Linked DNA regions of Homo sapiens: regions 1, 2, 3, 4, 6 and 7 are each linked to region 5. The links are contacts of gene promoters, found by promoter capture Hi-C in human tissues and cell types (Jung and others, 2019). All regions are on one chromosome and are shown on one strand. The core of a region is centred on a gene start or on the middle of the fragment in contact, and the rest is flanking DNA. Distances in the headings are between cores, read along the strand shown. Region 1 has its middle 47 kb from the start of RBFOX2. Region 2 overlaps APOL3 (apolipoprotein L3). Region 3 holds the start of APOL4 (apolipoprotein L4). Region 4 overlaps RBFOX2 (RNA binding fox-1 homolog 2). Region 5 holds the start of HMOX1 (heme oxygenase 1). Region 6 has its middle 5.1 kb from the start of APOL1. Region 7 has its middle 38 kb from the start of APOL3.

Region 1 (4,155 bases), core at 46-2,545, 700 kb before region 5:
TAACAACCCCAGGGCAAAAGAGAGTTGCTCTTTCCCCCGAGTCATTGTATCAATGCCAGGGAACATTCTGACTGGCGCTGTTTTTGTCATAGGCTTCCCTCTGAATCAATCACTGTGGTCAGGGAAATGGAATACAGTGGCGTTTCAGTCTCAGTTACTTATCTACCCAGTAAATACGAGAGGGTTGGCTTTATTACTGACAGATGTATGAGGCCTCTCTGTTTTGGGGAGGGGCAGATATAAAGGTTCTGGACAGTCAAAAACCAGGGCTGTCTCTATATGCAAAAGGCCCAAGGTATATAATGAGAGGGACATTGTCAAATGAGCTAGGGTTGCGTAGGGTCCTTCCAACAAGTGAGGAATAATAAATGCTGTCTCTCTATCATGTATTTTCTGTACACCCACTGTATTAGTCTGTTTTCACACTGCTGATAAAGACATACCCGATTGGGAGGCTGAGGTGGGTGGATCACTTGAGATCAGGAGTTCAAGACCAGCCTGGCCAACATGGCGAAACCCCGGTCTCTACTGAAAATGCAAAAATTAGCCAGCTGTGGTGGCACGTGCCTGTAATCCCAGCTACTCGGGAAGTTGAGGCAGGAGAATTGCTTGAACCTGGGAGGTAGAGGTTGAAGTGAGCCAAGATCATGCCACTGCACTCCAGCCTGGCGACAGAGTGAGACTGTGTCTCAAAAATAAACAAACAAACAAAGAAACAAATAAATAAATAAATAAATAAGACATAACCGAGACTGGGCAATTTACCAAAAAAAACAAAGAGGTTTGATGGACTTACAGTTCCACAGGGCTGGGGAGGCCTCACAATCATGGCAGAAGGCAAGGAGGAGCAAGTCACATTTTACGTGGATAGCAGCAGGCAAAGAGAGAGAGAGCTTGTGCAGGGGAACTCCTCTTTATAAAACTGTCAGATCTCATGAGACTTATTCACGATCAGATCACGAGAACAGCACGGGAAAGACTTGACCCCATGATTCAATTACCTCCCACCAGGTCCCTCTCATAATACGTGAGAATTCAAGATGAGATTTGGGTGGGGACACAGCCAAACCATGTCACCCACCACATTTTCAACCCCTTCCTATATTTGAGAAATGTCCGGCCCTGTGGGCCCCATCTCCCCATGGTGAAATCCAGAAATGTTGGCTTCCCAGGCTTCCTTGAAGCTCGGGCACTGACATGTGATCCAGTCCCACCAAGCAGGCAAGTCCCACCAAAACGAGGAAAAGGAAGTGTGAACTCAAGAAGGAGGCTCTGTGTGGTGAGAGTGGCGGCAGGATGCTCAGCTTTAGAGTGAAATCCTGGGTGCAGAAATGTCTCACAGGAGCAGCGGCAGTGGTAGCATTTTGCTTATCCCGCAGCAGTGGTGGGATCTTGCTTAACAGCTGTTTCTGTGGCTATCTGGGGGGAATTGATCCTGGAAGCTTTGCCTACAACCAGGTCCTCCAGCCCCTCAAAAATTCTGTGAGCTGGGCACAATGGCTCACCCTTGTAATCTCAGCACGTTGGGAGGCCAAGGCAGGAGGATCACTTGAGCCCGGGAGGTTGAGACCAGCCTGGGCAACACAGCAAGATCCCATCTCTACTGAAAATAAAAAAAAACTAGCCAGGTATGATGGTGCACGCCTCTAGTCCCAGCTTCTCGGGAGGCTGAGGTGGGAGAATTGCTTGGCCCTGCTCACACCTTTGCACTCCAGCCTGGAAGACAGAGTGAGACCCTGTTTCAAAAAAGAAACAAAATTCTGTGAGCTAACATCCTTTTCTGCTTAATCAGCCCGTAGGTACTTCTGTTCCTTGCCACAAAGAGCCCTGATTAATGAATGCTGTAATTCTCCTCGGCAGGTACCAGGTGGAAGAGCTTTCCTGGAGGGGCAGTTTTCCTCACTTGCTGGGGGATCGGAGGGGCGGGGGGAACTGCAGGCAGCCCTGGGGAATGCTGTCAAATTGCCTTCTACCCTAGCCCCAGGCCCAGGATCTTGTACCAAGTTCCTAGGGAGAGGGTGACTGACATGAAGACAACACTAAATCAGATAAAAAAAGCAATATGACTGGATGTACATGAATGACCTCTCATGATGTATGTTTCTATTTTTATTGAGACAAATTTCACAAACATAAAATTAGCCATTTCAAAATGTACTGTTCAGACGGGGCACAGTGGCTCATGTCTGTAATCCCAGCACTTTGGGAGGCCAAGGTGGGTGGATCGTTTGAGGCCAGGAGTTCGAAACCAGCCTGGCCAACATGGTGAGACCCCATCTCTACTAAAAATACAAAACTTAGCCAGGCGTGGTGGCACACACCTGTAGTCCCAGCTACTGAGGAGGCTGAAGCAGGAGGATCACTTGAACCGGGGGAGTGGAGGTTGCAGTGAGCTGAGATTGCGCCACTGCACTCCCAGCTGGATGGCAGAGTGCAATTTGTGCTCTAACATAAAATGATATCAAAAAACTCGTAGCATTCTCCACCTCATGCCAGAGACCTTGTCTCAAAATTTTTTAAAAAATGCGCTATTCAGTGGTATTTTTTCATTCACAATGTTATTTATGCAAGCATAATATCTATCTGGTTTCAAAACGTTTTCATCACCCCCAAAATAGACCCCATATCCATTGAGCGGTCACTCCCCCGTTCCCCCCTCTCCTTAGTCCCTAACAACCACTGATCTGCATTCTCTCTATATAGATTTACCTATTCTGGATATTACATATAAAGGGAATCATTTAATAAGTGACATTTTGTGTCTGAGTTCTTTCACTGAACATGTTTTCAGAATTCATCTACATTGTAGCCTGTATCAGTACATCATTCCTTTTTTTTTTTTTTTGAGACGGGGTTTCACTCTTGTTGTCCAGGCTAGAGTGCAATGGCACGATTTCAGCTCACTGCAACCTCCGCCTCCTGGGTTCAAGTGATTCTCCTGCCTCAGCCTCCCAGGTAGCTGGGATTACAAGCGCCTGCCACAACGCCTGGCTAATGTGTTGTATTTTTAGTAGAGACGGGTTTTCACCATGTTGGCCAGGCTGGTCTTGAACGCCTGACCTCAGGTGATCCACCCGCGTCCGCCTCCCAAAGTGCTGGGATTGCAGGTGTGAGCCACCACACCCAGCCCATTCCTTTATTGTTTAATTTAATTAATTTATTTTTTGAGACAGGATCTCTCTCTGTTGCCCAGGCTAGAATGCAGTGACATGATCATGGCTCACTGCAGACTCAACCTCCTGGGCTCAAGTAATTCTCCCACCTCAGCCTCCTGAGTAGCTGGGACTAAAGGCACATGCCACTACACCCAGCTAATATATATATACACACATATATATATATATATATATATATACACTTTTATATATATACACTTTTATATATATATACTTTTATATATATACACTTTTATATATATATACTTATATATATACACTTTTATATATATACTTATATATATACACTTTTATATATATACTTATATATATACACTTTTATATATATATACTTTTATATATATACTTATATATATATACTTTTATATATATACTTTTATATATATATACTTTTATATATATATACTTTTATATATTATATACTTTTATATATATACACACACTTTTTTTTTTGTAGAGGTAGGGTTTCATCATGTTGCCCAGGCTGGCCTCAAGTGATCCTTCTACCTCGGCCTCCCAAAGTGCTAGGATTACTGACATGAGCCATTGCACCAGGCCCAAAGCAGTTACTGTTTTCCATAGTAACTCCCATTTATCATTCCATTCAGTAATATGCAAGGGTTTCAACTTCTCCACATCTCACCAGTACTGGTTATTTTCTGGTTTTTGGATTATAGCCATCCTAGTGGATGGGAAGTGATATCTCATTGTGGTTTTGATTTGCATTTCCTTAATGACTAAGTATATTGAGCATCTTTTCATATGCTTATTGGCCATTTGTTTGTCTTCTTTGTTTTTGTTTTTCTGTTGTTTTTTGTTCCTTTGTTTGTTTCTTTGTTTTTTGAGACAGAGTCTTGCTCTGTCGCTCAGGCTGGAGTGCAATGGCGTGATCTTGGCTCACTGCAACCTCCACCTCCTGGGTTTCAAATGATTCTCCTGCCTCAGCCTCCCAAGTAGCTGGGACTACAGGTACATGTCA
Region 2 (3,745 bases), core at 36-2,535, 760 kb before region 5:
TGATCTCCCCTGGGCTAGTTTTCTCTGGCAGGCACACCTCCTCCAGGCAGCCCCCTCTGCTGAACTTGAGAATGTCCCTCTCAGCAGTCCAGGAGGAATATTTCCTCCAAGTCCTTCGCTGGCAGTGAGTGACCTCAGGCTGAGGGGAGAGGAAGCCCACAAGGGCAGGGTCAGTTCTGCCATCTACTGGTGATGGGAGCTTTGCAAGCTACTTGACTACTTTCTGCCTTCCTTTCTTCATCCATTGAGCTTTATTGTGAGAAAAATAAGCTAATGCATGTAAAGTATTTAGCATAATGACTGACACATGGTAGGTGCTCCGTTAATGTTACCTTTTAAAAAGATTGCTGGGGAGAGACCAGGACCAAAAGTGTTTTTCTTTTTTTTTCTTTTTTTTTCTTTTTTTTTTTTTTTTGAGACAGAGTCTTGCTTGTCCCCCAGGCTGGAGTGCAGTGGCATGATCTCGGCCCACCGCAACCTCCGCCTCCCGGTTTCACGCCATTCTCCTGCCCCAGCCTCCCAAGTAGCTGGGACTACAGGCTCCGGCCACCGCATCCGGCTATTTTTTTTTGTATTTTTAGTACAGACGGGGTTTCATCGTGTTAGCCAGGATGGTCTTGATCTCCTGACCTCGTGATCCTCCCGCCTCGGCCTCCCAAGGTGCTGGGATTACAGGCATGAGCCGCTGCGCCCGACCAAGTGTTTTTCTTAGAGTTGGATGCCCAGCAGGACTTTCTTTGAAAAAAGCCAGAAAAATCTTGACCTGATCAATGTGTGTTCCTGGAGATGCTGTCCGGGGCCCTTTTCTTCCACCTCTGAGGAACTGCACAAACACAGCAGGATCCTCCTGCTGACACAGAACACAGAGAGGCTGGAATGGAGTTGGACAGAGCTGGGGGTGGATCTTGGCTCTGTCCCTGCACAGCTCTGGGGCTGTTGTTTTATGTCTTGGAGACTGGGACCTGCCATCTCTCCAATGCTAATAGTAGTTCAATCAGATGGGCGTGTGGTTAAAGCCTGAGAATGAACAGCAGGTCAGAGGTGGGGAACCAAGTAGCATGATGCCATCCAAAGACCCAGAGAGACGTTTCAGGGGCAGAGCCAGGGGTCAGGATGGGGCAGGGGTGGGCCTGGGTTGGAGGAGCAGCAGGAAGGCTCGGGCACCAAGGCTGGGAGTAGGGTGAGAAGAGGGAGGCACTGAGGGCATGAAAGGTAACGTGGCCATGGACTTGCAGAGGACCAGTGAGTGGGAGAGGGATATTTCTTCCCTCCCTGATTTGATCCCATCACTGATGGGCATAGTGGGCCATGGGTGACTGTTTCCCTGACAGCATGCCTGGGAACTGGGGCATTCTGAACTGCCATTTGGGACCCTCTTCTGTTCTACATAGAGTAGAGGAAGTGTTTCTTCGGGCCAGCTTGGAGAGTTGGAACAAGTGTCTGCCAACTGGGTAATTTGAAGGGTTCTCAGGAGACTCACAAGTCCCCAACCAAAGAGAAAAACACTTTCTCTATCATCTTGTCCAAATGCAGGTCTTTTCAGCATTAGTGATTTATAGAGATGATTTTCAAAGTCTCATGAGTCCATAAGAGGTTCCATGAAATTGCACATGGCATTGGCATGCACACAGGTGAAGCTGTCACCTGCTAAGGCATTAGTTTGGCTGGTGACATGTGACAGTGAGACCCTGAAGCTTGGAGGTGCCAGGTCAGGAGGCCGTCAAGTGGCTTGAGAGTTCATGTGCAGCCAGGACTAATAGCCAGGCCTTTCACTTTTCAGTCAAAGGGGGCAGTGGCTGGACCCAGTGGCCTTCAGTCAGAAGATCAAAGGGCATGTGGCATTGGAAGAGAGAACATGCCAGGCAAGGTGATCTCTTCCAGTCTGAGGTTTTATTTGATAGCTTAAGGACTCAGAGTTAGTCAAAATGCAATGTCTGAAGGCACCCTTCCTTCTGACACCAGTTGCAGATTTGAAGGTGTTTCTTAAGCCCCCACTCAGGTTTGATAATTCACTACAAAGACTTACGTAACTCACTGATAACTGTTATTGCACGATTGTGGTTTATCACAGGGAAAGAACACAGATTAAAATCAGCCTAAGGAAGAGACACACAGGGCAGAGTCTGGGAGGGTTTCAGGTGTGAAGCTTCGTTGTCCTCAGGACGCTGTGTTCTCCTGTGTGAATGTGGGACAAAACACATGGGGTGTTGCCAACCAGAGAAGCTCACCCAGTTAAGGAAAAATTCCTGTGAATCACATTAGATCAGGAAGCCTTTATTCAGGATTGTGTTACAGGGGAGGGAGACTGAGCCCAGCTCCCAATATAGTAAAGACAGAGGGGGAGTCACAGCCAACACCAGGGTGAGGAGTGGGAGATGGACCAGTTCTGACTGGAGACACCAGAATGGGGGGTTTCTGCTAAACTGGCCTAACAAGCTGCTCAACTAAAGGCAGGTAAGGAGCGGGTGAAGACCGTGATCAGACAGCAAGAATGCTCAGACAGCAAGTGGGGAGGACCCTCCCTAACTGCCTTGGGGGATTCTTGCTGAACTGGGGCAGTACAGGCCCAGCAAGCACGGGATGGGCATGGAAGGTCAGCGCCTAGAGGAGAAAAGGCTCAGAGCAGCCTGACTGGAGTTTGGCCAAGGAGAAAGTCTTTCTCAACCTATGCCTCAATGTACAGAGCTCTTTCTGGGGCTGGATCACAAGCTGTCCTGATGGCTGACATGGAGTCCCCAGCCCCTCCCTGAGGTCTAACACCCTTAGTTCCCAGTTCCTTTGGAAGGCAGAAAAGATACGTAATAGCCCCAAAACCCATCACCCATAACATTGCTATACTGTGCTGTAGCCAAACCACCAGGGAAACAAAGATGTTCCTACCAGGCAGGACATTCCAGGGCCCCAGAGATCCCTTCCCAGGGCCCAAAGACAAAAGAACGACCTCTCTTCTAATAAAGTTAATCCTTCACTGTTCTATGATCCTCTGAATGAAGGTCTTTTTGCTCCGAACCCACTTCTCTTTGTTCATCTACAAAATTTCCCCTCTCCACACACTATTGGAGGGATGATGTTGACCTCTCTTGCTTGAGGAGCCATCTTTATCGAATACCTACCACTAAAGAGCATCTGAAGATGACTTTAAGTTTTTTATTCCCATACAGAATAAGTACTGTGGCATATCTATGATATACAAAACATGTTTAACCTTGGAAAAATTATTTTAAATTTTTCCATTTAAAATTTAAAGCTTTATTTCCATTTGACTCATAGTAATAGCTCTGTGATTTATGTAGAACAGATCTTATTGAGCTGATTTTACAGATAAGTAAGCTGCCTTTCTTAATCATCTGTCCTTTATTGGTACAGGGATGAGGCAGATGCTCTCTACGAAGCTCTGAAGAAGCTTAGAACATATGCAGCTATTGAGGACGAATATGTGCAGCAGAAAGATGAGCAGTTTAGGGAATGGTTTTTGAAAGAGTTTCCCCAAGTCAAGAGGAAGATCCAGGAGTCCATAGAAAAGCTTCGTGCCCTTGCAAATGGTATTGAAGAGGTCCACAGAGGCTGCACCATCTCCAATGTGGTGTCCAGCTCCACTGGCGCTGCCTCTGGCATCATGTCCCTTGCTGGTCTTGTTTTGGCACCATTTACAGCAGGGACGAGTCTGGCCCTTACTGCAGCTGGGGTAGGGCTGGGAGCAGCGTCTGCTGTGACTGGGATCACCACCAGCATCGTGGAGCACTCA
Region 3 (4,053 bases), core at 1,022-3,521, 820 kb before region 5:
CCTGGGAGGGGAGTGACTTGCCCAGGGTCCAGTGTCAGGAGGCTGAGCAGGTAGATCATAGGACTCCATGTCTGTGGCCCTCACCTCTGTCCCTCTGTTCAGACCTCTGGGGTGATGGAGAAGAAACAGGCTGTGCTGTGTCCCTAATGGGAAACTGTAGGGAGACCCCCTGAAACTATTGCTACGGAATAAAAGATGAAATGCTCCTGATTATTGTAAATACAAAATTGCATGCAGGATTGTGTAAAGACAATGCCAGGTTGGACTGCCAGAACGAACCAACAGCACGTGATGTGCTTCCCCCTGCAGAGAGCCTATGAATGGATGCAGGGGGGCGCCTGTCCATATGGACAAGCTAGGGCTATAAATGCTATCATCTTGCCGTGGCTCTTCTAGGCATCTTTAGGGTTCAGGTATACTCCCTTCTGAGAATTTCTAGTCTAACCGGTTATCTAGCTTCACGTCCTGTTTCCATGGATTGTCAGTAACCAGCTTTTGTTGCAATTGTTACTGCTGATTAATATCTTGCTAATCATAGGTTATGGAAAGATTGTGTTTCTGTTTTAAGGCTCTGTTAGAAATTACTGACGCACACACTATATTGTAAATTCTTATCTCTGTATACTGTACTTCTACATACAAATGCACTGTACTTCTACATACGAATGTTATGTTAAAGAATTACTTCATCCCCATGTGACCATCCCACCTCGTAATCAAATGACCCTAAATCCCTCACTAACCTACCCCCGCCCTCACTAAACTGAATAATAAATGCTGGTATATCCAGTGCATTGTTGACCAGAAGGCGGTGACCCCCCTGGACCCAGCTTTCACTATCTTGTGTGTGTCTATTATTTCTCAACCTGCCGATCCGCCTAGGAGCAAAGAGAGAGCCCCGTTGCACTGGGGGCTGCTGGCCAGATCCCGCAATAGGAAACATGGCTGAGACAGGGGAGTGAGAAGGTCGCATTGCAGAATGGTGCCTGTGGCATGACGCCAGCTTTGTAATCATGAGATTCAAAAGCCACCTGTGGAATTGTGAGTGTAACTACAGGAGTGAGAGCTTAGATCTCTGTGTTTGTAGAAGCAGAATCAAACCTGGACACTGTTGGATTACTAAAATCACCCGTTTTTCTTCAATAGCAGAGTCACAAGGGCAGATGTTGGCTTCCCGTCTGCTCTCCAAGAGCTGTGCGACTCTGGGCAAGTCACCTCCCCTCCCAGCCTAAGATTTTCCCCTCTCAGAAACCTGATAGAGCTGCCAAAAGTCCATGAAATCAGGGGGGTAATTTCTGTGAAATCTGAGTCGTGGTCTTATTTTTCTTTTTCTTTTTTTTTTTTTCTTTTTTCTGAGATGGAGTCTCGCTCTGTTGCCCAGGCTGGAGTGCAGTGGCGCAATCTCTGCTCACTGCAAGCTCCGCCTCCCGGGTTCACACCATTCTCCTGCCTCAGCCTCCCGAGTAGCTGGGACTACAGGCGCCCGCCACTACACTCGGCTAATTTTTGTATTTTTAGTAGAGATGGGGTTTCACCATGTTAGCCAGGATGGTCTCCATCTCCTGACCTTGTGATCTGCCTGCCTCGGCCTCCCAAAGTGCTGGGATTACAGGCGTGAGCCACCGCTCCCGGCCTGATTTTTCTTCACCAAAAAGAGATGCCCATCAAGATAGAAAGCACTATAGCTGAAGCCTGTAATCCCAGTGCTGTGGGAGGCAGAGGCGGGAAGATCACTTGAGGCCAGGAGTTCAAGACAGCCTGAGAAACACAGGAGATGCTGTCTCTATGAAATCAAAAATTAACAAATTAGCCCAGCATGGTAGCGTGCACCTGTAGTCCCAGCTACTCAGAAGGTTGAAGGAGGAAGATCACTTGAGCCCAGCAGATCTAGGCAGCAATGAGCTAGGATGGCGTCAAAGCCCTGCAGCCTGGGTGACACAGCAAAACGGTTTATTAAAAATGAAATGAAAATGGTGATTTCTCAGGAGGAGCACACTGTCTCAACCCCTCTTTTCCTGCCCAAGGAGGAGGCCCCGCAGCGACATGGAGGGAGCTGCTTTGCTGAAAATCTTTGTCGTCTGCATCTGGTGAGCTTGGCTCAGAGCCCTGAGGTGGGAGGGAGGGCTCCCTGTCTGGGCTGCACAATTGGGCAGGGCTTGGGCTGGGCCAGGAGCCATGTGGGTTTTTCTAGGAACCAAAATCACTTCCCGGAATTGACCAACTGGTAGACTCGCCTAGAGGGGACGCACTGTGTCCTAGTTGAGGCTAACAGTCAGTATCCAGCCTCAACATTCAGCAGAGGCCCCAGATCAGCGTCTGAGCCAGGCCAACAATGACCAAGGAGGATGGGATCCTGGGTGCAGCTCATCACAAGCGTCGGGTGAGTCCGAGGCCCCAGCTCTCTGCCCTCCTGCTCCTCTGCTCTCTCCTGGTCCTCCCAGTTCTACTGGCTCATGGTGTTGAGATGGTTGCCTTGGCCTAGGGGGTCACACAGTGAACAAAGCAGGAAGAAGGCGAAGGGATGCCCCTCTCCTGTCACCCCTGTCCCTTACAGCAAGAAGCGCCCAGACGCCCCTCTGCATACTCCCCTGGTGAATGCTGCCCAGGACTGGGTCCCCCTTTTACCCTTGTTGCATGGGGGCCCCAGAAGACAGACATCTGTGTGTCTGAACCCTGAGACAAAGGCAGGAAAGGGAAAGAGGGAGGCGAGTGGCTTTTGAGGAGGGGGCTTTAGTATGAGAGCTGGAGGATGGAACCCCATCAGGGGGCCCGGGAACCACTGAGCTGTTAAAATAAAGTCTGCAAACAAAGACCAGCTGCTGGAAGTGGGTGTGCCAGGGAGTGCGCAGAGACACACGGTGAGAAAAGAACAATGGTAATGCTTGGAGCCGCCCCTAACTGGGATGGGCCTGAAATGGTATTGTTATTATTTATAGTATCATTATTAGTCATTTTCATCTTATTTGTACCCTCCCTCTATCTCTCCTCTCCACCTTTTCCTAACATTCTATCACCAGTTTTATGTCTTCCATTAGCAACTTTGTAGCTGTAAACAATTTACTTACAACTTTCTTATACCCTCAGTTGTACCCAGTATTTCTTAACTTCCATCTTTAAAAAATGACAATATTAATCCTCCTTCTCCTTTGTTCAGTGCTTCACATCTCAACTGCTACCTTCGTGCCTTAAAGTTTGTACTAATTGGTATTGATAACAAGATATTTAGTTCTCAAATTTACATGTTGTGTATATATTTTTTGTCCTGATAAAGAGACTACTGAGAGCCAGTAAGACTGAAAGAATGGGCATCTTCATATACTGCTAGTTTGAGTGTGAATTGGTACAATTTGCATGTAGTGTGGCTCTAGGTATAAAACATTTTGAGATGTTGATACCCTCTGACCTAGTCATTCTACTCCTACAAATATCTTAAGGAAATAAAATCAAATGTGGGCAGTTTTACGTGAAGGAGGGTGTTCTTTGTAGCATAATTTACATGAAGAATTAGAAACACCCTAAGGTCCATCAGCTAGGGGAGGACAGCAGAGGGAACAGGGCAGCGCCAGGAGGGCTCGGCAGCCACAGCAGGGGCTAGGCCGGCATCTGGCAGGATCCAGGTCTTTGTGGGACAAAGGATCTTAGAGAAGCAAGGGGGACACAGGCTGTCCACTGCAGCACCAGTGAATTCACCAAGACGAAAAGTTGAGCACGGAGTGTGAGACATGGATTTGCAATGAGGAGTCATTTACCATGAGCGTGTATACATGACTCAATATTGTATATTTAAGGGAGTAGAGCACAGTCATTGAAGACATGAGGTTGAAGCAGAAGTCCTGGCTCTAGCAATAGAAAACACTGGCAAGTTCCCTAACTTTTGTGGATTCCTCTGTGTTCAAATGGGAAAGTGGTACCCATCTCCCGGGCTGTGTGTGATCATTGAATGAGACACATGTCAGAAGCCCTGCACATCACAGGCCCGGCGCGACCGCTCACGCCTGTAATCCCAGCACTTTGGGAGGCCGAGACGGGCTGATCATGAGGTCAGGAGATCGA
Region 4 (4,127 bases), core at 736-3,235, 600 kb before region 5:
AATCTACCTAACTTTTCTCAAGCCTCAGTTTTTTCATTAGTAAAATGAAGATAATAATTACTACCATAACGTTGTTTTGGTGATTAAAAATTTATTATTCCACTACTAAAAGCCTTTCAAAGGCTTCTTTCTTAGTATTTATGTCCCAACAGAATGGAATCACTTGCTATCTTTTTCTCCTCTGTGCTTTTTTACCATTTTTCTTGTATCTCTTTTTACCTCTCTACTCAGAAAATTCTCCATAAAGTAAAACACATAACATAAATACATAAGCGTGCAAAGTCAGGTTGCTCCTTAGATCTCAGCCAAATGGTATTTTGTTTTCAAGGAAGCCTTTCCTGAGCCCGATCCCATTCCAGTCTGGAAGATGTCCTTTCTTTTAATTTGTCTGTCCCACCTGCTAAACTGTAAGTTCTCTGAGGGCAGAGATTGTCATATTTACTATTGGGTCTTCCTCTTTTTTGTCTTGTAAATGGTGTATGGTCTGTATGCAAGCTGCTTGCAAAACTCAGGGCAATACCAAGAGACATAGCACCCCCCACCCCCGCCCCAATTGATTTATAACCAGAAGAAAACCGCTTAATTTTCACCTAATTGATGGTAAAGCCTGGTTACTTTGGGGATAAATTTGGCTTTGAAAGTAAACCTGATGCTTTGTGCTTTGGTAGATATTTAACTTCTGTTCTCTTTCATACACAAGAGTTACTCCTTTGCTTTGAGTAGAAAACCATTAGAAAACCAGGGTAGAACTTTTGGCAATTATCCAGTTTAGTAATTGGGCCAAATAGTTCTAATCTCACCACAACCACTACTTCTTAGAAAATGATCTCTTTAAACAAAACATGGAACATCTCTGAGGATGAAAACCTAAGGGAAGGAATAGTTGGAGATCCCCAAATATACTCATATAGATTCCCCCCATTCTTTTTCCTATTTATGGGTGTTCAAGCCTTGGAGAGATGTGTGTGTGTTGATCACATAGGATCTTTTACCTACATGACCTAAGTATATTCCGTTGTGGCCTTTGGTCTATTTTTTTTATACATCTCAAATGTTATCTTTTAATAGGTCATAATGAATTTGTGGTGGAGTAAAGGCCCAACATTCCCTGTACAAGTAAAGGCAAACCATAGCGCCAGTAACCCTTTACTAGTTTATAAGTAAAGGCTATCTCTGTTAGCCTGAATTCCTTGAGGGCAGGGATGGTCTGATTGATTTTCCATCCTCAATGATAAGTAAAGATATTGGCACATACTTCGTTACGTGATGGTTACCTATTTGTCGAATGAGGTAGCATGGTGTAGTAGATTAAAGGCTCCAGAGTTTGACAGACTGAGTTAGTATGGCACTGACACTTGTTGAACCACGTTTTAACCTTTCTGAGCTTTAGGATCAGCTTTCGTTGTGAGAATCAAAGACATTGTACTCTTAAATTCCTGTTAGTGGCTATTATTTTTTCTCCATTGATTCTTTATTTTGAAATAATTTCACATTACAGAAAAGTTACCAGAGCAGCTAACAACCCACAAAACACCCCAAACTCCTGGATTTTCTTCACTCGGATTCCCCAGTTGTTAATATTTCACTGCATCTGCTTCATTGCTCACTCTGTGTGTTTGTGTGTGGGGTTTGTGTACATACATACCCTTTTTCATTGTGCCTTTTCTGAGCTTTTTTTGAGAGCAAGCTGCAGATGTGATATTCCTTCACTCCCAAACACTTCAATGTGTATTCCCCGAAATAGGACTTTCCTATATAACTGGCAGAGATCTCCAAATCAGGAAATCAATATTAGTACAACGCGACCATCCATCCACAGACTTCGTTAACATTTTGCCAGCTGTCCCAGCAATGTCTTTTTCCTTTTTGGTCCGGTATCTTGTCTAGGAATATGCGTTGCATTTAGTTGCATGTCGCCTCAGACCTCTTCAGCCTGGAACAGTTTCTCAGTCTTTACCTTTCTTTCATGTCCTTGACATTTTGAAGAGTCTAGATCTGGGTCCATCTGTTTCTTCATGACAGCAGTAATATCATTTTCGGCAGGAATACCACTGCAATGATGCTATGCTCTTCTCATTGCATCATATCTGGAGGCAAATGCTGTCCCCCGCATCCCACTGTCAGTAATATTGTTAACCTTGAACAGCTGGTTAAGCTGATGTCTGCCAGGTTTCTCCACATCAGATTCATCATTTTTCCTTTTGTAATTGATTATTGTCTTGTGGAAAGGTATTCTGAAATTATACTACTATCCTGTTCCTCAACAGATATATACCTAACCTCCTTAGCGCTATTGACTACTCTTTCCTGAACCAACCAGTTTTATTCTGTCAAATGCTAGTCCTCTATTTCTGTGTCTGCCTGTATTTGTTAGATGTCATTCTGTTACAAAGACTTTCCCTTTTTCATTTGTTTATTTCTATCAAATGGACTCATGGATTACTATTTTATTCAGTGGGCTGTAGTCCATTTCTATAATTATACTCCTCAAGCTTGAGGGAGCTTGAAAGTTTAGCCAGTGGGACCTGCTTTATGCTGGTTTCTTTGTCCTTTTGACCTGTCCCCATCATTCATGGGACATTTCCTTATTTTCTGCCACAAGAAGGTTTTCCAAGTTTATTTTGTACTTTTCCTACCAAAGCCTTGGAATCAGCCATTTCCAAGAAGCTCTGGTTCTTTTAAATGGAGGATAGTAATTAGAAACCAACATCTGGGTGGTGGGTATGCATATTGCTACTAGAGTGTCCTTGCCTCTAGGCTGTCTCAGCAAACAGCTAGAAATTGTGTGTATGTGTACATACATATGTACATAAACACATATATACCACATATACATCTATATTTCCATATCTCTTTGTGCTATATACGTATATATACATGCATGATGTTTGTGTGTGTGTTACATATTTTAAATTATAAAACAATGCATTTTATATTATAAAATCATGAATTCACACTGATAACTCCATTAAATGCAGCCAACCTCTTTCCATATTTGTAAATATATTCTCCAGTAGGGAAAAACTTGGCTCCCCTTATCCCCAATATGTTTACTTATTTGCTCAGTGTAGCCAGTTTTCCAACCGCGATGGCTGACTCCACCACCTCTGTACCCTACTCCTCATGTTCTGGAATCCTCAGTCAATGGGCTCCTTTGGCCCATTCTTCCTTGTGGCTTCCTAATCTCCCTAGAGTTTCCCAGCTTTACCTGTAGTCTTCCAGTGCCCCCTGACCCCCAACCACTCTTATCTTTGGCCTCTGGGCCTGCTGTCCTGTGCATCCTTGATTCCTCAGCTGCTCACCTACCTGTGTCCTTGGCTGCTGTGCTAACTCCTCTGTGACGGAAGGGGGACAGGGCTTTTTTTTTTTTTGAGGGGGATTTTATACGTATACACATATGTATATGTGTGTGTGTGCATGTATATATATATATATATATATATATATATATATATATATAGTTCATTCAGGTATAATTTACATGCAGTAAAATTCATTCTTTTAAGGCTACATTTCTATGAATTTTGACAAATGTAATATAGACATGTAACCACTACCACAATCAAGATATAAAATGCGTCCATTACCGTAGAAAGTTTCTTCAGGCTCTTTCACAGTTAGTTCTCTCTTCGCATCCGCAGCCACTGGCATCACTGATCAGATTTCTGTTCCTATGATTTTGCCATTTCTAAAATGTTATATAAATGGAATCATGTATTATGTAGCTTTTTGAGTATGGCTTCTTTCACTTAGTGTAATTCTTTTGAGATTCGTCTGTACTGTTTTAGGTATTAGTAATGCATTCCTTTTTTGCTGTTGAGTAGCTTCATTTCTCTTGGGTAAATACCTAAGGTTGGGAATGCTGCAGGGTCATATAAGTGTATATGAAGTGTTTAAGTGTATGAGAAACTGCCAAACTGTTTCCCAAAGTGGCTGTACCACTTTGGATTCCTGTCAGCAATGAATATATCTACATTCTTTCCACTATTTGGTATTGTCCGTTGTTTTTTTAAAAAATGAGAGTCCTTCTGATAGGTATATAATGGATATCTCTTCGTGGCTTCAATTTGTATTTTCCTAAATATTAATGATGTTTAGCATCTTTCATTTGCATATTTGTCAGTCAT
Region 5 (4,145 bases), core at 219-2,718:
TGGTGAAACCCTATCTCTACTAAAAATACAAAAAAAAAAAAAAAAATAGCCGGGCATGGTAGTGGGCGCCTGTAATCCCAACTACTTGGGAGGCTGAGGCAGGAGAATCGCTTGAACCCAGGAGGCAGAGGTTGCAGTGAGCCGAGATCGCGCCACTGCACTCCAGCCTGGGCAACAGAGCAACACTCCATCTCAAAAAAAGAAAAGCAAAAAAGCAAAAAAACAAAAAAACAAAAAACAAAAAACAAATTCAGGCTGGGCATGGTGGCTCTCGCAGCTTTGTAAACACTCTTCAGTCATTAAAACACTAAATAATACAGTCCCCCAAACCAAGGGGGAAATCCTGGTACAGGTAGTTCGCAGTGGAGAGGAGGAGGAGGTACAGCATAACCCAGGAAGAAGCAGCAGCCCCATGAACCGGCATCTCCAAGTTTGTAATTGCTTTGATTGGCTTTTAGACCCAATATTTAATTCAGTTATTTTGTTAAAGTTCCAGATGCAAATCTCATGACCCCCTATCATGTTATGCTCATCATGAAGGCGTCAGGGTTAAAAAGCCTGAGAAAGTCTGCTTTAGTCAAAGAAAAAGTCTTTCTGGGAGTATTTCTGTCATGGGTCCGTATCCCTGCCTCCCCACAGAATTGTCATTTTTCCCTTTTCTCCTGCCCTGCTTCCCTGTTCTACAACACAGCTGGTCAAAGTCTCAGGAGAAATGGCACATGTCTGTAAGTCCCAGCTACTCTGGAGGCTGAGGTGGGAGGATGCTTAAGCCCAGGAGTTAAAAAAAAAAATACTAACAAATTATTGAAAGAAGGGAATGAGTGAGACCTGGAGGTGGGCAGACCAAGGTTCAAGGCCCAGTTCTGACACCAGCTAACTGAGCACTCTTGGGCATGTCGCCTCCCTGAACTGGGCTATCTGTGAGACATGGAACACCGCAGCCAGGGTGATGTCTGGCTCAGGTCCTCCGTAGCTAGTGAGGGACAGATGCCACCAAGAGAACCAAGCATGCTCCCCCAGGCTGGCAGAGCCCCAGAGATCTAGATTCAGCAGAGAGCAACTCCAAACACACCTCGAAAGTAGGATTAAAAAAAAAATTGGCTACCTCAAAGACTGGATACTCTAGGGACACTCCCATCTTGGTCACCAACCGCATACCAGGGTGCCAGGCATGTAAATTACCGTTCCTCCCTCCAACTACCCTACGGGCACAGGCAGGATCAGAACCCCGCACCTCCTGACTCCAGAGCCCAAGTTTCTGGCTCCTGGGCTCTGTCGCTGTGTGGCAGTGTCCCGGGGTGGGGCTAGGACGCAAGCAGGGTTGGGAGAGAAAGGCGCCCGTCCCGCGTCCCGCGCCCCGCGCTTGCCTGTCGGGTTGCGGACGCTCCATCCGGCCGGTGCTGGGCTCGTTCGTGCTGGCTCCGCGGGCGGCGGCTGCGCTGAGGACGCTCGAGAGGAGGCAGGCGTTGACTGCCGGAGCCGCGGCCGGTCACATTTATGCTCGGCGGGTCACGTGGGCCAGGCGGAACAGCTGATGCCCACTTTCTGGCCGGGCGTTGCAACACCCGCAGGGGCCCGCGCCCAGCCCGCCCCGGGCCAGTGTGGGGTGGAGAGGAGCAGTCATATGACCCTTGGGAAACAAAGTCTGGCCATAGGACTTTTAGAGAAAACACACACACACACACACACACACACACATACACACACACACACACACACACACACACACAAAACCTTTAAGGAAATCTGAGAAGCTGCAGGCTCTGGGTGTGATTTTGCTCCTTCCAGAGCCCCCCCTTCTGCTCCCTGTCCCCTTGGGACTTGATGCACCCCAGGCGTCCCAGAAGGTTCCAGAAAGCTGGGAGGCAGCGCTGCTCAGAGCAATAGCCTGGTGGGCAACATCAGGAACTTAGCAACCCCAGGCTCTGCTGTCTCCAGCTCCCTAAAATGTCACCTGCTGGAATCCTCTGCTGACTGCTTGCCTCCTCACACCCTCTTTAAATGTACATTTAGGATCTGTTTTTTGAGTTCCTGTCAAAAAACAGAGACTCTAGTATTTTCATGGTTCATCCCTACAACTGACCTGTGAGGGTAGATCGCTTCTATTTTACAGATGGGGAAACCGAGGCTCAGAGGGGTGCAGTGGTGTCACACATAAAGCAGGATGCCAGTGTCCAAACCCAGGGAGGAGACTAAGTCCCCGCCTGCCTCCTCCACACTCTGGCAGCACCTGGTATCCGCCTGGACTGGGACACCTGTCATACAAACTGCTTCCCTGCTGGAATGCGTGGGACACTCTTCCAGGCACATTCAGGTCTGACTTATACTCAGTGCCTGCTCAGGGCCCAGAGCAGAGCTGGCCCTTGCTGATCGCCTATTGAATCAATTCTGCATGAGGTGGACTCCTTAGAACTCGGGGGAAATAGGGTCACTGGGTGAACCCAGAGGACAAAACGAATGGACCAGATGATTCATACAGTCCTTTCCCAATACTGTGATTCTCATTCTAAGATTTTTTTTTTAAGATGGCTTTCAGGCCTGGCATGGTAGCTCACACCTGTAGTCCCAGTACTTTGGGAGGTTGAGGTGGGAAGAGCGCTTTGAGCCCAGTCGAGGTGGGAAGATTGCTTTGAGTTCGAGACTGGCCTGGGCAACATAGGGAGACCCTGTCTCTACAAAATATAAAATAAATTAGCTGGGCATGGTGGCACATGCCTGTGGTCCCAGCTACTTGGGAGGCTGAGGCTGGAGGTTCACTTGAGCCTGGGATGTAGAGGCTGGAGTGAGCTGTGACCACGCTACTGTATTCTAACCTGGGCAACAGAACAAGACGCTGTCCCTCAAAAAAAAAAAAAAACAAAAAAAAAAAAAAAAAACTTCCTGGAATTCAGCCTAGGGCCACTACAGCCCAGAGGCACTTCTGAGATTGTATTGGAAAGGATCATCCTCCCAAGGGTGAGCTAAGGGGCCTTGAAAAAAATTCCCCTTCTTCCTCTGAAGGTTCCCCGAAAACCAACCGACAAAAGTCAGGTTAAGAGGAGAAAAGACATACAAAAATGTATTGTAATGGGGTAATCACGGAAGAATGGTGACCCTGTAACCCAGTGGAGTACAGAGGCTACCCAGCCTTTTTTATAGGGGAGAAGGGAGATAGGGAATGCAGACAATTCTTTTGAAAGACAGTAAATCATTAGCAAGAAGGAATGGCCCTGGAGGTGAAAGGCCGACTTTAAGGGAAGGTGGAGGTGGAGCCGCACAGGGACAAAGGTTGTCCTAGGCAGATAAAGTCCCCCAGGTAATCTCTTGGCACTGTCCTCAGAAGAACAGGTAAATCTGTCTGGGTCTGGTGATGACTCCCAGTCTCTTTCTCTCTCCAGTGGTTGATCTTTCCTGGATATTTGATGAGATTACTAGAAAAAGGGCTTAACACTGGCCGGGCGCGGTGGCTCACACCTGTAATCCCAGCACTTTGGGAGGCTGAGGCAGGAGAATCGCTTGAACCCGGGAGGAGGAGGAGGTTGCAGTGAGCCAAGATAGTGCCACTGCACTCCAGCCTGGGTGACAAGAGCGAGACTCTGTCTCAAAGGAAAAAAAGACTTAACACAATTGCATTTCTTTTGTAAAGAAGTGTTCTTGGTCAGATAAGGAAATTCCAGAGAGCGTCTCTCCCTGTGCTTGTCGGGGGAACAAGACAAGCTTACAGGGACCTTGACTCTGAGGCAGCTCCTAAGGCCTCTCATCATGTCAAAGCACCAGTTGTCCTGGTATCACTTTCTGAGCCCCAACAGTGGCATGTAAAGCACAAAGGTGGAGACCTTGCCTACTACTTTGCTTTGTAAATTCCCAGTTCCTGGAATAGTGCCTGGTAGGTCACAGTTAATACTGAATGCATGCCTGAATGAATAGATGCTTCAAGGTCTCTTTCTGGGAAAAAATAATAATATTGTTAGGCTGTAATATTGCTGGGCTGATAGAATGGGCTGGAACCAAGCCACAATTCCAAACTGTCATTCTAACCAGCCTTTATTGAGAATTTACTATGTGCAGAGACTTCACGCGCGTGATTGCAGCCCATCCTGACAACAGCCTTGCAAGCTATTTTCATCTCTATTTTGCCCACATGAGCACTGAGGGACAAAGAGGAT
Region 6 (3,969 bases), core at 209-2,708, 870 kb before region 5:
AAACATACCTTTTCTCTCTCTAGTCCTGTATTTCTACCAAAGACAAATCATAGTAGGGCTAATTTATTTGCAACAGAAGTTTTAGTCTGATGGTTCTTGGCCTGATCATTTGTATAAAGTGCAGCAAGAATACTTATTTGGCATATGGGCTCCTTTTGGAAATTGACTTTGCTACAATATTTTCTTTTTCATAAGATATCTCAGAGTAGGCCTTTTAAAATCTCAAGCTCAGCCAGTGATTTATATTTGCCTGCAGATGCCTATATATATTAGGTGAGTTCCTTTCTCCTCAAGGTCCCAAGGTAACTTGGGCTTCCTGGGCCTGTCAGAAAGTGACATTCTTTACTTACCACAGGACAGGAACCCTGTAAAGGAACTGTATAGGCAAAGTTTGAGGAAAATTTTTCAAAGAGGCTTTCATCGGCTCTATAAGCCAGCCACCATTACTCAAAGCAGCCTACGTACATGTGGAAATATGCCATGCCAGTCAAAGCCTTGGTAAAATAACCAGTGTCTCTAGTTGTGTCCTGTTATGAAAGAAAACAGATTCCAACTGAACTTATGCAAATAACTCTATTGCCATGAACTAAGAATACTCACAAATAGTTTCCAAATTCTGGAGAAATCAGATAGTGAGAAAGAAATATGCTTCAAATTTTGCTCACAAGAGTATACTTTATTCAATTGTTAAAAGCTACATGGAGCCCAAAGGGAAAAAGAAGTTTTCTTGACTAAGAAAAACAAAACAAAAGAATCAGTCGTATATTAAACAAAAAGTCATTAAAAATTTATTTTTGTTCTCCATTAATTCATTCCCATGTAATAACCTTCTTCCACTTGATATTGGGTTAGCAATCTTCATGACCACATCAACTTTTGAATTACAGTCCTGGAAGATTTATTTTTTTCTTAGTCCGATGGCACAATCTGTAGCTGATCATAAACTGTTTTTTGAGATGTAAAGTAAACACTTTTTGCAGATAACAAAAGTATGAGAACAGCATTGGTAAAGACACATTCGACAAGGAAATTACTTTATTTCTGTGGCAAACAACTACTTAACATAATAATAATAATAGTTTCTGATAACATATGCCAAGACATATTAGACCTATAGAATCTCGTACAATTTTGGAACACATATTAATAACACATTTATATAAACATAATCCAAAGAATGTTAAACACCGTTTTATATTTGTCATGCTGGACCCCTATGCTAATGAGCTGACAGGACACAGACTTGGAGAGACAGAAGAAAAGACCTGGAGACAGCAGGTGAGACATAAGCTTTATTCAGGGAGCTTATGTACAGGTTGCCCAGGAGCAGCAGGCAAGACAAGAAATCCCCTCCTGTTTGTCAAATGCATGCAGGTTATATGATATTCTTCCCAGAGCAACCTCCACTTAGCACCTCTGCCAGGAAACCTCCACCTAGCCCAAAACAAAAGGTCTTGATTCCTTGCACAACCTCTGATCCAAGGAACAGAGTTCTTCATAAGTATGATGTAAACATCTGGATTGGCCATTCCCGGGATCCATACCTTGGAACACTGAGCAAAAATTCACCAAGGAATGTAGGGTTATTCTTAGGGGATGCTTCAGTTATTGCTGTCTGACGGGACATGCCCACCATGCTCTCCACACCCCTGCATAGCCTTGAATGGCCCTCACAATCTCATCACACTGTTTTTCTGTGATTTTCCTGGGGCCAGTTTTGTGGAAGAGCATTGCAGCCAGACACCCCAGCAGCAACACTAACCTCAACAAAGGATTATGAACGCAATTGCAATTACGCTAGATACAAAGTTTCTCCACGTGTCTGGGAGTTGATTAAACCATGAGGTGATAAGATCATAAGACAAAGACTCTGTGGCTGGACTCTGGGTATCTAACGTCAGCAGAGCCTGTGTTATGTTATGAGAGTAATGAGGGCTATATACACAACATTTTGTTTTAATTAATGCACAAGCTCCACCATGGGCAGCAGTTGTATGATTTTGGGTCATACGATTTTGCAGAGGAACATGCCTGATCTGGGTGGTTTCTTGATTGGGAAGTGTAAAACGATGGTGAGTATCATTGAAGGCTGCAGCTGTGTGTTTAGCCAGCACACGAATTGCAGCTCTGCATTTACAGTTGCCACTTTGGAGGCAAAGATGGCCAAGGGGTAGAACCACCAGTATGCACATATCTGGTAATCTCTAGCTTTTACCGTTTTCCAGTTACTGGGGGTCGTGTCTAAATGGGGAACTATATACTGTGGCAATTAAGGATGCCCTGAGATGCATCTGCCAGTCCAGTTGAATGGCAAATAAGGCCAAGGGTGGGTGACACAGGCCCACAGCCATCTCCATCTCCATGGGGATTGGTAGGCACCCATATGCAGAGACTTATTCTACCAACCCAGCCATGTATCATTGCTTAACCCAAGGGCTTGGTGACATTGTTGTACAGGTAGTCACCCCATATTGTGGGGTTAGCCGGTGATGTGCTGTCATTGTGTCTACCAATACACAGTTGCACAACTGACTACCTGTATTTGTACTATGGTTGTTCTGTCTGCTGTTATAGCTAAGGTGCAAGTTTACCCATGCCCCACTGCACCAAAGCAATTGCAAACCTTCCCCGGCCTCTGGGAATAGAATCTTCACTGCACTACAATTGCGCAGTGAAGAATTAACTTTATCCCAGGAGAGGTCTTCCCATTGTCCCCTACCCCTGCGAAGTGATCTCCAGGCCCCTGGAATGCCCTGCCTGGTAGGAATGTCTTTGTTTCCCTGGTGGTTTGGCTACAGGACAGTATAGCAAATGTGATGGATGATGGGGGTTTGGGGCTATTGGGTATCTCTTCTCACCACCAGAGGATCTGGGGACTAAAGGTGTGAGACCTCAGGGAGGGGCTGGAAACTCCAGGTCAGCCATGAGTGCAGCCTGTGGTCAAGCCCCAGCAAACACTCTGGACACTAAGGCATGGGTTGAGAAAGACTTTCTGTTTGACCAGACTCCAGTTGGGCTCTTCTGAGCCTCTTCTCCTCTAGGCACCAACCTTGGCCTTCCATGCCCATCCCGTGCTTGCTGGGCCTGCACAACCCTGGCTCAGCAAGAATCCCCCCGAGTCAGTTTAGGGAGGGTCCTCCCTTCTTACTGTCTGAGCACACTTGCTATCTGATCACTCTCCTCACCTGCCCCTTGATGGGTGAGTGTCTGACCTGCCTTTAGGGAAAATCCTGTTAGGCCAGTTTAGCATGAACCCCCGACTCTGGTGCCTCCTGTCAGTCCTGTTCCATCTGCTGCCCCTCACTCTGGTGTTGGCTGTGACTCCCCCTCTGTCTTTACTGTATTGGGAGCTGGGCTCAGTCTCCCTCCCCTGTAACAACAATCCTGAATAAAGGCTTTCTTCCTGATTTAATGTGATTCACAGGAATTTTTCCTTAACTGGGTGAGCTTCCCTGGTTGGCAACACCCCATGTGTTTTGTCCCACATTGACACAGGAGAACGCAGCCTCCTGAGGACAACGAAGCTTCACACCTGAAACCCTCCTAGACTCTGCCCTGTGTGTCTTCCTTAGGCTGATTTTAACCTGTGTTTTTTCCCTGTGATAAACCACAGTCATGCAATAACAGTTTTCAGTGAGTTACGTGAATTCCTCTAGTGAATTATAAAATCTAAGGACGGATTTAGGAATCCCCTTAAATTTGCAGTTAGTGTCAAAGATAAGGGTGCCCTCAGACATTGCAGTTTTGGTAACTCTGAGTACTCAGAATTCAAACAAAACCAAAAACAGACCTACACAAGATCACTTTGCCTGGCATCTGCTCTCTTCCAATGCCTCATGCCCTTTGACCTTCTGACTGATGGTCACTGGTTCCAAGCACCGCACCAGTTGACTGGAGGAGGAGACCTGGCTATTAGTTTTGGAGAGTCCACATGGATTCTCCAGCCACCTTACTGCCTCCTGACCTACC
Region 7 (3,606 bases), core at 961-3,460, 740 kb before region 5:
CCACAGTGTCAGCCACTCAAGCTCCCCTAGCCAAGCCTCGTGCTGAATTTTGAGGGCTGCAGTAGAAAAGCGGGCGCACTGCGAGCCCTGCGTGTTGCCAACAGCCTCGGCAGAGCCAGGAGGTGGCGCTGTCGGCACACGCATCGTGCTGTCGGCGCTGCGCAGCCGCAGCCCGGGACCTTGGAGGACAGGCGGTCGGAGCCGCTGCTGGTGACGTCAGCAGTTTTACAGAGGCACAAAGCCGGAGCAGGAAGAGTAAATGTCTGCACCAGGAAGGAGCCAGGGAGGCCAAGTTGAGAGCACTTCAGAAGAAGTGAATAGGTTCAGGAATCCAGCAGCGCCGGAGGGGTGGAGCCAGGGAAATACTACTCTGTGACAGTTTTGCTCATGAAGTGGAGTGCCAGGAAAACACAGCGTCTGGCCGGGCGCGGTGGCTTATTCCTGTAATCCCAGCACTTTGGGAGGCCTGGGCGGGCGGATCGCTTGAGGTCAGGACCAGCGTGGCCAACATGATGAAACCCCGTCTGTACTAAAAATACAGAAATTAGCCGGGCGTGGTGGTGCGCGCCTGTAATCTCAACTACTCGGGAGGCTGAAGCAGGAGAATCGCTTGAACCCGGGAGGCAAGTCAGCCGAGATTTTGCCGAGGCGCAATCAGCCCAGATCATGCCACTGCACTCCAGCCTGGGTGACAGAGCAAGACTCCGTCTCAAAAAAACAAACAGAAAAAAAACACAGCGTCCAGGCAGCTCCACCTTCCATGTTGAAAGCCTGTGACTGCCACATTCTAGCGGGACTGGCTTGTTTGCCTGCAGAACGGAATGGCCCCGGGGTCTGTCTGGGTCTGGGTCCAGATGAGAAAGGCGCCCAGCCTTCCTCTGGCCCCAGCCCTGCACATTGACCAAGGATGGATGGCCCTCCATACCAGGCACCCCGGCTCCTCCTCATTCCCCTCTGGCTTCTCCCTTCCTCCTACCGCCATGCTGATCCTCCATCCTTCTGGCTCTGGGCAGTGGTTTTCAAAAGCACTGTGGTGGTAGTCACTGGGGCTGTTGGCCACATTTGTCTGGCTTTTCCCCTTTCCAGATGCACAGTGGGATTATTCTTCCTGGTCTCCTTATGGTTGGGTGGGAATATGTAACCAGTTCTGGACAAAAGAGTTTTGAATGGAAATAATATGTGTCATTTCTAAGCCACAGCAATGAATGCTGATATAAGACCCTTTTCCTCTACTGTGGCAACCAGCAATCTTCCAGAAAGTGGTTGCTCCATGATACTGAGTCCAGGAGGGAAGACAACCGGAGCAGAGAGGCACCTGCCCCATGATGGACATGTAGCGTGAGCAAGAAGTAGCCTTTGCTGTTGTGAACCACTGAGATCGGGGGCTTGCTTTTTGGTGGTTTTTGTTTGTTTGTTTGGTTTGTTTTTTTGTTTTGTTTAGTTTTGTTTTGTTTTTTGAGACAGAGTTTCGCTCTAGTAGCCCAGGCTGGAGTGCAATGGCGCGATCTTGGCTCACTGCAAGCTCCACCTCCCAGGTTCAAGCGATTCTCCTGCCTCAGCCTCCCAACTAGCTAGGACTACAGGCATGCACCACCATGCCCGGCTAATTTTGAATTTTTAATAGAGACAGGGGTTCACCACGTTGGTCAGGCTGGTCTCAAACTCCTGACCTCAGGTGATCCGCCCGCCTCGGCCTCCCAAAGTGCTGGGATTACAGGCGTGAGCCACCGTGCCCAGCCTAGGGGCTTGTTTTTTACTGCAGCATAACCTAGACTATCCTGGCTGATATAAGCAAAGCTGCTGGAAATCAGGAAGCTGTTTGTAGAACACTATGAAAGGTACACAGCTTTAAATCCTTAGATGAACTAGAATTGTTATTAACAATGAGTATCACTTATTGACCAGGCGTGGTGGCTCACAACTGTAATCTCAGCACTTTGGGAGGCTGAGGCAGGCGGATCACCTGAGGTCAGGAGTTCAAGACCAGCCTGGCCAACATGGTGAAACCCTGTCTTTACTAAAAATATAAAAATTAGCCAGGTGTGGTGGCACACGCCTGTTATCCCAGCTACTCGGGAGGCCCAGGCAGGAGAATCATTTGAACCCAGGAGGTAGAGGTTGCAGTAAGTCGAAATCACGCCTCTGCACTCTAGCCTGGGTGACAGAGTAAGACTCGGTCTCAAAAAAATAAAATAAATAAAATAAAAAAATAAATCAATGAGTATCACTTATTGAGCACCTACTACGTGTCAGGTATTACACAAGGTATACTAGGTTTTTTGGCAAATGTTTTCTCATTAATCCCCATCCTAGCACTGGGATTTGGCAATACTGGCCTATTCGGTATGATTAGTCTGAGGCAGTGAAACTCAGGGAAACGGACTCAAGGTCATGACCATAGCCTCTAAGTGGTCTTAATATAGCCTCTAAGTCATGACCATAGCCTCTAAGTGGAATTGAGATTCAAATGTAAGGATCTCTGTCACCCAAACTCTCATTCTTTCCACTCCTAGGCTGTTATCATATAAAAAGCAGGACTAGGCATAGTAAGGGGAAAAAAAAAACAAACATTTTAAAAAGAAATTATCTCTTAACAGGAAAAACATTAACATCTGCCATTTTTCTAAATTGAATGTGAAAGATGATCCTGACAGGCTGAACAAAGATGCTTGCTCTCTGTTGTGATGTTTGACAAGGGAATCTTCCTTCATTTTCTCCTCTGATGAGCCTCTCTACCAGATAAGCAGCAGCAGGAACCAAACGTTTAAGAAAAATGTAAAGACATTATTTTGTCCATCACTTAACATTTTTATGAACAAGTTGGGAGGTAGCCTGCATGAATGCCTCTGTGCAATGGAATGAATGGCCGGAGATCTCACCATCCCAGGATGACTTTGGGGAAGGAAGACCCAAACAGCCCACTATCACATGCTGTCCTGCCTGCCTCAGGCCTCCTGTCCTTCTCTCCCTTGTGACCTGCAAACTAACCTTGAGGACTCATGTCAACTGTCACTGCATTGGAAGCCCTCTGTGATAGTTAATATTGAGTGTCAACTTGATTGGATTGAAGGATGCAAAGTATTGTTCCTGGGTGTGTCTGTGAGGGTGTGGCCAAAGGAGATTAACATTTGAATCAGTGGCCTGGGAGAGGCAGACGCACCCTCAATCTGGGTGGGCACCATCTAATCAGCTGCCAACACGGCTAGAATTAAGCAGGCAGAAGAACTTGGAAGGACTAGACTTGCTGAGTCTTCCAGCCTTCACTCCCTTCCATGGTCTTTCTCCCGTGCTGGATGCTTCCTGCCCTTGAACATCAGACTCCAAGTTCTTCAGCTTTTGGACTCTTGGACTTACACCAGTGGTTTGCCAGGGGCTCTCAGGCCTCCGGCCACAGACTAAAAGCTGCGCTGTCAGCTTCCCTACTTTTGAGGTTTTGAGACTCTGGCTGGCTTCTTTGCTAATCAGCTTGAAAACAGCCTGTTGTGGGACTTCACCTTGTGTTCGTGTGAGTCAATACTCCTTAATAAACTCCCCTGCATATATACATCTATCCTATTAGCTCTGTCTCTCTGGAGAACCCTGACTAATACAACCTCCCTTTCCTGC

Evidence for each region. The method cuts DNA at HindIII sites, captures the fragments that hold promoters and counts their contacts. A contact is called where the count stands out against the background at its distance.
Region 1: a fragment that was not itself captured here is called in contact with the fragment with the promoter of HMOX1 in region 5 in 3 of the 25 tissues and cell types used here (aorta, bladder and dorsolateral prefrontal cortex).
Region 2: a contact is called between a fragment that was not itself captured here and the fragment with the promoter of HMOX1 in region 5, in 6 of the 25 tissues and cell types used here (IMR-90 fibroblasts, dorsolateral prefrontal cortex, heart left ventricle and 3 more).
Region 3: the fragment with the promoter of APOL4 here is called in contact with the fragment with the promoter of HMOX1 in region 5 in 3 of the 25 tissues and cell types used here (dorsolateral prefrontal cortex, mesendoderm cells and small bowel).
Region 4: a fragment that was not itself captured here is called in contact with the fragment with the promoter of HMOX1 in region 5 in 2 of the 25 tissues and cell types used here (H1 embryonic stem cells and mesenchymal stem cells).
Region 6: a fragment that was not itself captured here is called in contact with the fragment with the promoter of HMOX1 in region 5 in 5 of the 25 tissues and cell types used here (dorsolateral prefrontal cortex, heart left ventricle, hippocampus and 2 more).
Region 7: a contact is called between a fragment that was not itself captured here and the fragment with the promoter of HMOX1 in region 5, in 1 of the 25 tissues and cell types used here (dorsolateral prefrontal cortex).

Annotation. Positions count from the first base shown.
Region 1 is chr22:36,073,336-36,077,490 of GRCh38, reverse strand. No RefSeq gene overlaps it. Among named protein-coding and RNA genes, the nearest start is that of RBFOX2, 47 kb to the right of the region's middle. The HindIII fragment of the contact is 4,053 bases long and covers 1-3,321 here.
Region 2 is chr22:36,141,680-36,145,424 of GRCh38, reverse strand. It overlaps APOL3 (apolipoprotein L3), which reads left to right. Exons shown (of 4, transcript NM_145639.2): 4 at 3,367-3,745. Among named protein-coding and RNA genes, the nearest start is that of APOL3, 17 kb to the left of the region's middle. RefSeq lists an enhancer at 3,471-3,745. The HindIII fragment of the contact is 7,006 bases long and covers 1-3,745 here.
Region 3 is chr22:36,200,027-36,204,079 of GRCh38, reverse strand. It overlaps APOL4 (apolipoprotein L4), which reads left to right and starts at 2,271. Exons shown (of 4, transcript NM_001386885.1): 1 at 2,271-2,380. The coding sequence starts at 2,346. RefSeq lists an enhancer at 1,796-2,295. The HindIII fragment of the contact is 28,208 bases long and covers 1-4,053 here.
Region 4 is chr22:35,977,056-35,981,182 of GRCh38, reverse strand. The region is part of intron 1 of RBFOX2 (RNA binding fox-1 homolog 2); the gene reads left to right. Among named protein-coding and RNA genes, the nearest start is that of RBFOX2, 50 kb to the left of the region's middle. The HindIII fragment of the contact is 4,397 bases long and covers 1-4,127 here.
Region 5 is chr22:35,378,419-35,382,563 of GRCh38, reverse strand. HMOX1 (heme oxygenase 1) reads right to left here and starts at 1,468. Exons shown (of 5, transcript NM_002133.3): 1 at 1,368-1,468. The coding sequence starts at 1,390. RefSeq lists silencers at 1,198-1,367, 1,668-1,747. The HindIII fragment of the contact is 25,740 bases long and covers 1-4,145 here.
Region 6 is chr22:36,246,032-36,250,000 of GRCh38, reverse strand. No RefSeq gene overlaps it. Among named protein-coding and RNA genes, the nearest start is that of APOL1, 5.1 kb to the left of the region's middle. The HindIII fragment of the contact is 5,646 bases long and covers 1-3,969 here.
Region 7 is chr22:36,120,687-36,124,292 of GRCh38, reverse strand. No RefSeq gene overlaps it. Among named protein-coding and RNA genes, the nearest start is that of APOL3, 38 kb to the left of the region's middle. RefSeq lists a silencer at 1-57 and an enhancer at 1-292. The HindIII fragment of the contact is 9,372 bases long and covers 1-3,606 here.